Regions from separate parts of the Homo sapiens genome. Here region 2 is linked to region 1. The links are contacts of gene promoters, found by promoter capture Hi-C in blood cells and fetal thymus (Javierre and others, 2016). All regions are on one chromosome and are shown on one strand. Each heading gives the region's core, a stretch centred on a gene start or on the middle of the fragment in contact. The rest is flanking DNA. Distances are from core to core; before and after follow the strand shown. Region 1 holds the start of BPNT2 (3'(2'), 5'-bisphosphate nucleotidase 2). Region 2 holds the start of YTHDF3-DT (YTHDF3 divergent transcript).

Region 1 (5,004 bases), core at 35-2,534:
GACCAACAGCTGGTATATTTCTAAGTACCTCCTTAAAGGGCCCGCAAACTATAAACTTTAGAGCGTCCTGACAAAAAGACAGCGAAATGAGCATACTCATCCCCCACCCCCCCACCCCGACTCCCGCGAGCGCACACACGCACACACAAATGCCCCGCACACTAACAGCTCTGCAACAAGACTCGGTCTTTCAGCTGGCTACTGGCAGGCCACCCAGAAAATGTGTACTCCAGTTTCGACCCTTCTAGGGATGAAATCAAGGAAGGATAGAGAGTCTTGGTGGATTTTAGCCAACCCCTTAATTCTACAGAGGAGCCTGAAGCTGCGGGTGCAATTAACTTTGTCAGCCTTTTCGTTTCAAGGCCTTCTGATCCCAGGTACACACGGCGCACACCCGACCCAGGACGAGCCAAAAGGGCACGGGCCCTGAGTCAGACTACGTGCAACCTCACCCAGCTCCTCTGCTGTCTGTCTGACCTTGTGCACGTTAACTTCTGCGTCTCAATTTCCACATCTACAAAATGGAACCAGAAGCTCCACATCCCATACTGTTAAGAGTCGACGGGCCGAGACGCGCTACCCGGCTCGAGTGGGCGCTCCGCCCGTGGGCTCCCACCTGGACGCTGGGGAAGGCGGTCTTGAGCAGGTAGAACATCTTGCGGTTGGACAGCACGTCGCCGCTGGTCATCTTGTCCTCGGCTCCCTCGCGCGTCTTCCCCTTGGACTTCTCGTGGAGGACGTTGCTCTCGCGGACGCGCCTCACCTCGTCGCCGCCGCGGACTGCGGCCAGCACTGACACAGCCAGCATCTCGCGCAAGTCCACGGTGCCCCCATCGGCCGCGGCCGCGGGCCCCGCCGCGCCGCCGCCAGGCTCGCCGCCCAGGCCGAAGAGGCTGAAGCGGCCGGCCAAGAAGCCCGAGTAGAGGTGGTAGAGCACGCCGAGCCCCAGCAGGCAAAACACTGCCACCCCCAGTGGGGAAAGGCGGATGCCCATGGGGGCCATGGCGTGGGAAGCCGGGCGCTCCGGGCTGCGGCTCTCACAGGCCTCCAGCGCCCGCCGCCGCCGCCGCCGCAGCCGCCGCGCTCCGGGCCAGGCGCCGCGCGGGCTACACTGGCGCCCGCTCCCCGGCCCCGGTGCGCCCCATCACTCCCTCCCAGGAAAGGCCGAGTTGCGCCGCGAAGACCACCAACGCCGCCCCGCGCGCCTGACTCGCCAGGCAGCGCGCTCTAGGTTCTTCCGCCGGCCGGCTGGTCCGACTTCCACGTTAGCCTACGGCCGCGAGGTGAAAGGGGAGCGTGGGTGTGTATCCGGGTTACGCGACGGGGCGGGGCGAGGGCGAGGGCGAGGGGCGGGGAGAGCTGGGCACCTCCCCTTGGGGCGGGGCGGGGCGGGACAGGAGGCGCTGGACTGAGCTGCCTTCCTTGGTCTGGGTGGGAAGGTATTCCTGGAAGTGGCGAGCAGCAATCCGCACAGGACAGTGTGCTGTGCTGAGTGCCTTGTGGGTGTTTAAATTAAATATCCCATTGTACGACTATGGCTGGCTGTAATAAACCCACAGTAACAGTCTAGTCTTCTCATCACTCTCAGATTATTGAGGAATGGAGGAAAACACAATAAACCATTTTAAAAGATTGATTTGCAAGCTTTTTTAGCCAGCGGGGGTGTAGACAGCCTGTACCTTTAAGTCGCTTCTCCGCGCTCTTCCCGGCAGGACGGGGAACTGGGCGGTGAGGGGAAGAATTGTACTTGGCTCTTCATTCTGTTGACATCTTTGTCGTGCCCTAAATGCTTATGTGTGTATAGAGTTTCTCTCCTCCACCTGCCAGAATAAACCATCCTCGAAGCAGCTGAAAAACATGCCTTGATCCGGGTTTTTCATAATGAAAGAAAGCAAACCAGGCTTCTCTCATTTCCAAGGGTACTCGAGCCTGGCTCTCCTACCAGAGCTTAAGAAGAGGAATTGCTTGACAGAGTCCACTTAAAATAGAGGTTATCCGGAGATGGTCAGTCTAGAACATGTAATCTTTGAGTCAGCGTAGGCTCTCGAAGTATTTTGACAGAAATAACTACCTTCTACTATAACACCGATCTTAGCTAGAATGATAGTGAATACTTTATAAGTATTCATGAGTTTATCTTTAATCTTAAAAGTGAATATTAAGATGTATAGTATTGTTCTTAAATGTTAAAATATCTATATAAATCAACTTAAAATGTAGCCTGTTTTACTGTTCATAGCAAAACAGCATTGGTTTTAAGTGGACTTTAGAATTAACCACCTGAAAAACTGCAAGTATACCAAACTTCTAAACATCCATTGCTAAGCAAGTCATGTAGAGCCTGACCTTTACCGCTTACTTAGAGTTCAGGGCATCCCTAGAATTTGCATGTGATTATACACATACAACAAAAGCACTGCCAGATTATACACATACAACAAAAGCACTGTGATTTCCCTGCCAGAATCACAGCACAAAATCAAGTACAAATACAAATCAGTGAAAGAACAATCCCTAGAGTATTGACAGCACCAGAACTTAAAGAACTAGCATTGCCTTTCTTGTCAGCTTTTGAGAGTAACTTTGCAATGAAGCAAAGCTGCTTTCAAATATCTAAAAGTGAATGTCACAGAGTAATTCTCAAAACCCATCCCAGGGATAAAGATAAACATCAGGGTTGAAATATAAAGGTTTAAGTTAAACAGAACCACCCCAACCTACACTATGACAGCAGCAAAAAGATGAGTTGGATAGTAATCATGTCAATATTAAAAGCATCATTGGGAAGTCTGAGATTTCTCAAAATAAACGGAATAATATTTTCCAAGGATATTGGAGAATAATATAGGGTCACATTCAGTGTGGCAGTATACACAGTATACCACTGAGGGAAATACTAAAAGCTCTGGAGCATTTCTACTGCAAAAAAGGGATTTAAGACTTGAGGGAGAAAATGCCAAGGTATGTGGAAAGAAGGAGTCACTTGAAAGATTGTAGCTCCAAGAGGCGTTCTAGCACTCAAGTGATAATTGATCATAGAGAATGGGTATTAACAGATAACATTTAATCGACAAAAGAAGTTATGACAATAAGAAAACATTTGATTAATTACATGTGGTACAGTGATGTCAGAAAACCTTTATAGGAATTTGATTGAAAGAAACTTGTTTTTTTAGTATCAAGTTGTCAGAAGCTTCAAACAATGCATACATACACATGAAAATTATATGGCTTTCATATTAAGATTGTGGACAGTCTGTTCCTAAAACATAATCTACATCTATTCTTAAAATTGTTTTCCCCAAGATTTTGAAATAAACAATTAAATGTGTTAACTTTTAGGCCGGGCGCGGTGGCTCATGCCTGTAATCCCAGCACTTTGGGAGGCCGAGGTGAGTGGATCACGAGGTCAGGAGATCGAGACCATCCTGGCTAACACGGTGAAACCCCGTCTGTACTAAAAATACAAAAAAATTAGCCGGGTGTGGCGGCGGGCGCGTGTAGTCCCAGCTACTCGGGAGGCTGAGGCGAGAAATGGCATGAAACCGGGAGGCGGAGCTTGCAGTGAACCGAGATCGCGCCACCGCACTCCAGCCTGGGCGACAGAGTGAGACTCCGACTCCGTCTCAAAAAAAAAAAAAAAAAAAAAAAGAAACAAAAAAGAAAAAAAAAGGAAATGTGTTAACTTTTTAAATTAAAGCAAAATAATTATGTAGGCTGATGCAAGTAAGACAACTTGAAACTGCAACTAGAAACTATACCCAATGAAAAACCCTGCCTTAAAAGATAGACAAGTGGATATATTTTTACTTGTTTTAGGTTCAATTGTTAAGCTGTCTAGTTTTTTTCTGTAATTCTCCACTTTAATGCAGTTTTCTCAGTTAACTGGCCCACACTAGTTCTGATTACATCAGACATAGGACCTCTTCTAAATGTCTGGATATTGCTACCTTTCCTACAAATACCAGTTTTCCTTATAGTCTCCATGTGTACAGAATAAATAATATCAGTTTATGAAACATTATTAGCATCTTAGATGTTAAGGACATTTTGGTTCCTTTCAATGACTCCTGACCTTCAAATTTACCCTGGAAAATGTTTTTTATAAAAATTAATCTTGGCCGGGTATGGTGGCTCACGCCCCAGCACTTTGGGAGGCCAAGGCAGGCAGATCACAAGATCAGGAGTTCAAGACCAGCCTAGCCAACATGGTGAAACCCCATATCTACTAAATATACAAAAATTAGCCAGGCACGGTGGCACACGCCTGTAATCCCAGATACTTGCGAGGCTGAGGCAGGAGAATCCTTTGAACCCAGGAGGTGGAGGTTGCAGCCTGGGCGACAGACCGAGACTCCATCTCAAAAAAAACAAAAAATTAATCTCTGCCAGTTAGTTTCCTTGTATTTTTTCCTTTAAATATGCATTGGAGGGGTACAATATAATTAATGAAAGGTTCAGCGTAGTTGAACCCTCATTAAAAGTGTTTTTACGGCAGGCGCGGTGGCTCACGCCTGTAATCCCAGCACTTTTGGAGGCCGAGGTGGGTGGATCACAAGGTCAGGAGATCGAGACCATCCTGGCTAACACGGTGAAACCCCGTCTCTACTAAAAAAAAAAAAAAAAAATACAAAAAATTAGCTGGGCGTGGTGGTGAGCGCCTTCCAGCCTGGGCGACAGAGCCAGACTTCATCTCAAAAAAAAAAAGTGTTTTTACTACCTTTCTGAGAAAGAAAACAATGAACTGATGGCATTTTACATGTTGAAAATATAAAACTTCCAAGAAGATTATTATTTGCATATTCTTTCCTTAAGTGATTATATCCTATAGAAACAATAATTCTGTTTTTTTAGTAGATCCAGTGATATGGTGTTTGCTTCTGCCATTAAAGTTCTCTCTTTGGCAGATAATTGAAGTTCAGAAACAGTGGCTTTCATATATCAAGACTGTGGATAGTCTTTTTCTAAAACAGGATCTACATCTATTCTTAAAATTGTTTCTCC
Region 2 (4,797 bases), core at 1,400-3,899, 6.2 Mb after region 1:
AAAGATAAGTTTAAGTGCTGCTAGTTAACAAAGCAAATCCAGGAAATTACTAGGCACAGAGTTTATTACTAAGTATCCCCCCACCCATTCTCCCCCTCTTCCTTAGTAATAAACATCCTCATTTTTAACTGAACACATGGCCACTCAGAATATATTTTCCAGCTTTCACTTAACTTTAAATACTTGTAGGAAACTATGTTTTAGTTAGTAGAAAGTAGCCAGAAATGTTAATATAGTTTGGATGTTTGTCCCCTCCAAATTTCACAATTAAATGTAATCCCCAGCCGGGTGCGGTGGCTCAAGCCTGTAATCCCAGCACTTTGGGAGGCCGAGGCGGGCGGATCACAAGGTCAGGAGATCGAGACCATCCTGGCTAACACGGTGAAACCCCGTCTCTACTAAAAATATGAAAAATTAGCTGGGCGTGGTGGCAGGATCCTGTAGTCCCAGCTACTTGGGAGGCTGAGGCAGGAGAATGGTGTGAACCTGGGAGGCGGAGCTTACAGTGAGCCGAGATCGTGCCACTGCACTCCAGCCTGGGCGACAGAGCAAGACTCCATCTCAAAAAAAAAAAAAAAAAAAGTAATCCCCAATGTTGAGGGTGGAGAGGCATTTGGATCACTGGGGCAGATCCTTCATGAATGGTTTAGCACCATCCCCTTGGTGATGATTGAGTTCTTTCTCTGAGTTCACAGAAGATCTGGTTGTTTAAAAGTGTGTGTCACCTCCCCCATCTCACTCTTGCATCCATTCTCGTCATGTGTAAGCTAGCTCCCCCTTTGCCTTCTGCCATGATTGCAAGCTTTCTGAGGCCTCATCAGAAGCCAAGCAGATGCTGGACCATGCTTCCTGAATAGCCTGCAGAACAGTAAGTCAATGAAACCTCTTTTCTTTATAAATTTCCCAGTCTCGGGTATTCCTCTGTAGCGATGCAAAAACAGACTAATACAAATGGGAAAAATGCAATTTCTACAAAATGTCCTTAAAGGAGAACAATGTGCTTTCTTAACCTTGTTTTTCTGCTGGTGGGAATGTGATTAGGATGGCTGGAAGTTGAGCAGCCATCATGGGCCACAGGTAGAGGTATCATAATGAGGATTGTTAGATATGAGTTCTAAATTTCTTTTCAAAGAATCAATATGTCAGTATGTTCAATTCTTTGCCTTTTACTTTTAAACTTAACTTCCTCATAAAGCAACCTTTTTCGATTACCTGCTCCATCCTGACTCATTCTGATTACCTACTCCACCCTGACTCATTCCAATTACCTGCTCTGTCATAACCATTTTTCCCGCCAAACCACTCACCCTGTCAGTCTCTTTAAGTTAGCCAGTCAGAATTAGTTTAGCCTGTGCGGTCTAACCCTAGCCAATAGGGGAACAACACAGCAGAAGGGGCCACATGCGTCAGGGATAGAACCCCTTCCCTTCCCTTGTCTAAGTCTGTGCTCACCGTTGTTCCATCTGTAAGGGTGCACCCTTCTGTAGAAGTAACTTGCCTTGCTGAGAATTAAAAAGTAAATTCTATATTCGAGTGCTACTTCTTTTGTGGCAACAAAACTTTATTTATAACAGGATGGTGGAACAACAGACTAGAAGAAGCCTGGATTATCTGATACAATGGCAACCCAAGTCCTGGAGTATATCCAGACTGCTGTTGTATGAGAAAAACAGATTTCTATCTTCGGCTCCTGTTATTTTGAACTTGATACCACTTGTAGCTGAACCTAATTTGAACTGATACAAGTAATCATACAGAAGTTACAGTTGTGCAGACTGGAACTTCACTGTCTGTAATTTCAGCACTTTGGGAGGCCAAGGTGGGAGGATCCCTTGAGCCCAGGAGTTGGAGACCAGCCTGGGCAACATAGCAAGAACATGTTGCTATAATTAAACAACAAAACAACAAATAACAACAACACACGCACACACAAACACCAAAGTTGGCTGAGGGAAAAATGGGGCCTTAAATCCAGCCTGCCCTCTCCTTTCCAAGCTTTGCACTGTGCTGTGTGCTCCAGGAGACTGACACACCCTAGTGGCTCTTTAGAAGAGTGCATTTTTACCTAGAAACTAGGCTCTGTGGCAACATTTTTCAAAATATCCTCTCCATTCTCCTTGCCCAAGACCATGGGAACCCATCTCTTGCATCATCATGACATGGATGTGAGACCTGGAGTCAAAGGGGATCATTTTGGAGCTTTAAAATTTGAGTGCCCTTTGCATGGGCCCTGTAACCCCTTTGTTTTGGCCAATTTCTCCCATTTGGAATGGCTGTATTTACCCAATATCTGTACCCCCTTTGTATCTACGAAGTAGCTGGCTTGCTTTTTATTTTACAGGCTCATAGGCGAAAGGGACTTGCCTTGTCTCAGATGAGACTTTGGACTGTAGACTTTTGGGTTAATGCTGAAATGAGTTAAGACTTTGGGGTACTGTTGGGAAGGCATGATTGGTTTTGAAATGTAAGAAATGAGATTTGGAGGGGCCAGGGCAGAATGATATAGTTTGGCTATGTCCTCACCCAAATCTCAACTTGAATTTATCTCCCAGAATTCCCACGTGTTGTGGGAGGGACCCAGGGGGAGGTAATTGAATCATGGGGACCGGTATTTCCCATGCTAATCTCATTATAGTGAATTAAGTCTCATGAGATCTGATAGGTTTATCGGGGTTTCCCACTTTTGCTTCTTCCTCATTTTCTCCTGCTGCCCTCCATGTAAGAAGTGGCTTTTGCCTCCTGCCGTGATTCTGAGGCCTCCCCAGCCATGTGGAACTTTAAACACAATTTAACCCCTCTTTCTCTTCTCAGTCTCGGGTATGTCTTTATCAGCAGCATGAAAACGGACTAATACACTCCTGGAGGCATTGGAGATGGTTTCAGGTAGTCCCCAGATGTACTTCAAAAGTCTGTTAATATTAAATTAAGTAGGTTTATATCTGAGGGTAGGTATTATTGCTAGGAAGAAAAGCCATAAAGAAAGAAGTTTGTTGAGCAAAAATGAAAGAGAATAGAAGCTCATAATATTATGTCATTAGGCAGTATTATATGGTAGTTATTAGAGTGGGAACTTGGGAGTCACACTGCTTGAGTTCAAATCCTGGCTCTCATAGTGACTAGCTGTGTTGTTTGTGGCGTGTTTCCTAACCTCACTGTGTCAGTTTTTATAATGGCACTTCTGCAAGGATGCTGTGGGAATTAACATGACATATAATGTGTTCTCAATAAATGTAAGCGATTACTATTTCCGGGAATCTTTTAGCGAAGGAACAATTCATTACCTGTATATAGCCACAATTTGCTGAAAGCTTACTTTTGTGTCAGGAACTGTACACGAAGGACCTAATTTTACTCATGAGGAAGCTAAAGCTTAGAAAGTTTCAGTGCCTTTACCAAGATTATAACACTAATTCTTGCTCCACTAGAATTTAAATTCGAATTGATTGGGTTCCAAAGCCATGATACTAAGGATCAAAGACAAGGCTTGCAAGATTTAAGCCTCCTCTTGTATATTCTCTCTCAAGTTCCTGGCTCATAGCATGTACCAGCAAACTCATTAAAACTAAAACGGTCTGTTTGGGAGTGAAGGATGGGAGACATTGAGAGCAACAGCAGAAAGGGTTGGGGGAGTCTTGGGAAATGCAAGGGTGCTTAGGTTGGGACCCGTGGCAATGAATGGAAGGGCAAGGGAAACTGTCTAACCAGAACTTAAAAATGCCTCTTGGTGATTTACATGAAAAGTGGCCTCTCAAGTTTTTCTATTATTCAGTGCTTCTAAGATACTGTTGCACTGTAAACCACAAAATTAATCTTATGATTCTACAATTTTACTTTCTAAATGATCACTTATTTGATGGTTTTTGAAGTACAGAAAGTATTTGGTCATTTAAATTATTTCCTTCCATGGACTCTGTATCACTGAGACAAGGAATCTTTGCCTTTATTGTAGATATTTCAATGAAAATGTCAACACGTTGCAAATTGGCATACTTTGGGTTTGCCAATATGTGATAAAGAACTTTTTCAATGGAAACTTTCCCTCTTTTCAGGGCCGAAAAGACGCTCTGCAACTATACTTAAGTATCCTAGGCAACTTTATTCATTCAAAAACATCAGAGCGGAGTCAAAAGCACAAATCCATGAATTGGGCGGCGAAGTCTGACTCCAGAGATTACGGCTGAACTGGGTTTGGAAAGACTGAACCCGCGCCGGTGCTCCTCCTGTTTGCTTGGACTTAAGTTTGAGTACCACAACTCTAACCTGCCACTTCAGCTGCACGGGCAGGCTTGTGGGGACCCAGCAACTCCGTCCAGAGAGCGGCTGAGTCAGCCAGCCGTCCCCACGGCTTTGGGCAGCCGCCGAAGGCTCCTGCTAGGCCCGGCTGGCTCACCGGGAAGTTCCCTGCCTCCGTCCCGTCAGCCTCCAGGAGGGCGCCGCCGGCCGCCGTGACTTCAGCAAGGCACTACTATCTCCGTCAGCCGCCGCCTCGGCCATCTTCCTGCCCGGAGTGCAACAAAATCCGGCTCTGGCCAGCCTTCCAGCTGACGCCACTCTGCCAGGGCCCTGCAGCCTCGGAGCGGGATAGAAGGAAGCCGCAGAAAAGACGCTGAAAGTTGGCGCTCGCTGACGCCCCGACGCGCTCCCTCCATGACGCATGCGCCCACCGGCCGTGAGCGCGGGTCCGGTCTCCGGTGACGTGGCGGTGAGGAGGCGGAGCCAAGATCAGCGGCGGGAGGGTGGGGGAGGAAGAGCGAGGTGAGCGCGGACGTCAGAGTGGAGAGCGGAAGGTCAGGGAGG

The links. The method cuts DNA at HindIII sites, captures the fragments that hold promoters and counts their contacts. A CHiCAGO score of 5 or more calls a contact.
Region 2: a contact is called between a fragment that was not itself captured here and the fragment with the promoter of BPNT2 in region 1, in 3 of 17 cell types (non-activated CD4 T cells, naive CD8 T cells and total CD8 T cells). The highest score is 13.1, in non-activated CD4 T cells.

The regions. Positions count from the first base shown.
Region 1 is chr8:56,992,583-56,997,586 of GRCh38, forward strand. BPNT2 (3'(2'), 5'-bisphosphate nucleotidase 2) reads right to left here and starts at 1,285. Exons shown (of 5, transcript NM_017813.5): 1 at 617-1,285. The coding sequence starts at 1,003. RefSeq lists a silencer at 842-1,401. The HindIII fragment of the contact is 2,693 bases long and covers 1-1,642 here.
Region 2 is chr8:63,163,810-63,168,606 of GRCh38, forward strand. YTHDF3-DT (YTHDF3 divergent transcript) reads right to left here and starts at 4,633. Exons shown (of 1, transcript NR_102684.1): 1 at 3,916-4,633. It also overlaps a transcript of YTHDF3 not described here. RefSeq lists enhancers at 4,355-4,574, 4,775-4,797. The HindIII fragment of the contact is 1,313 bases long and covers 1,994-3,306 here.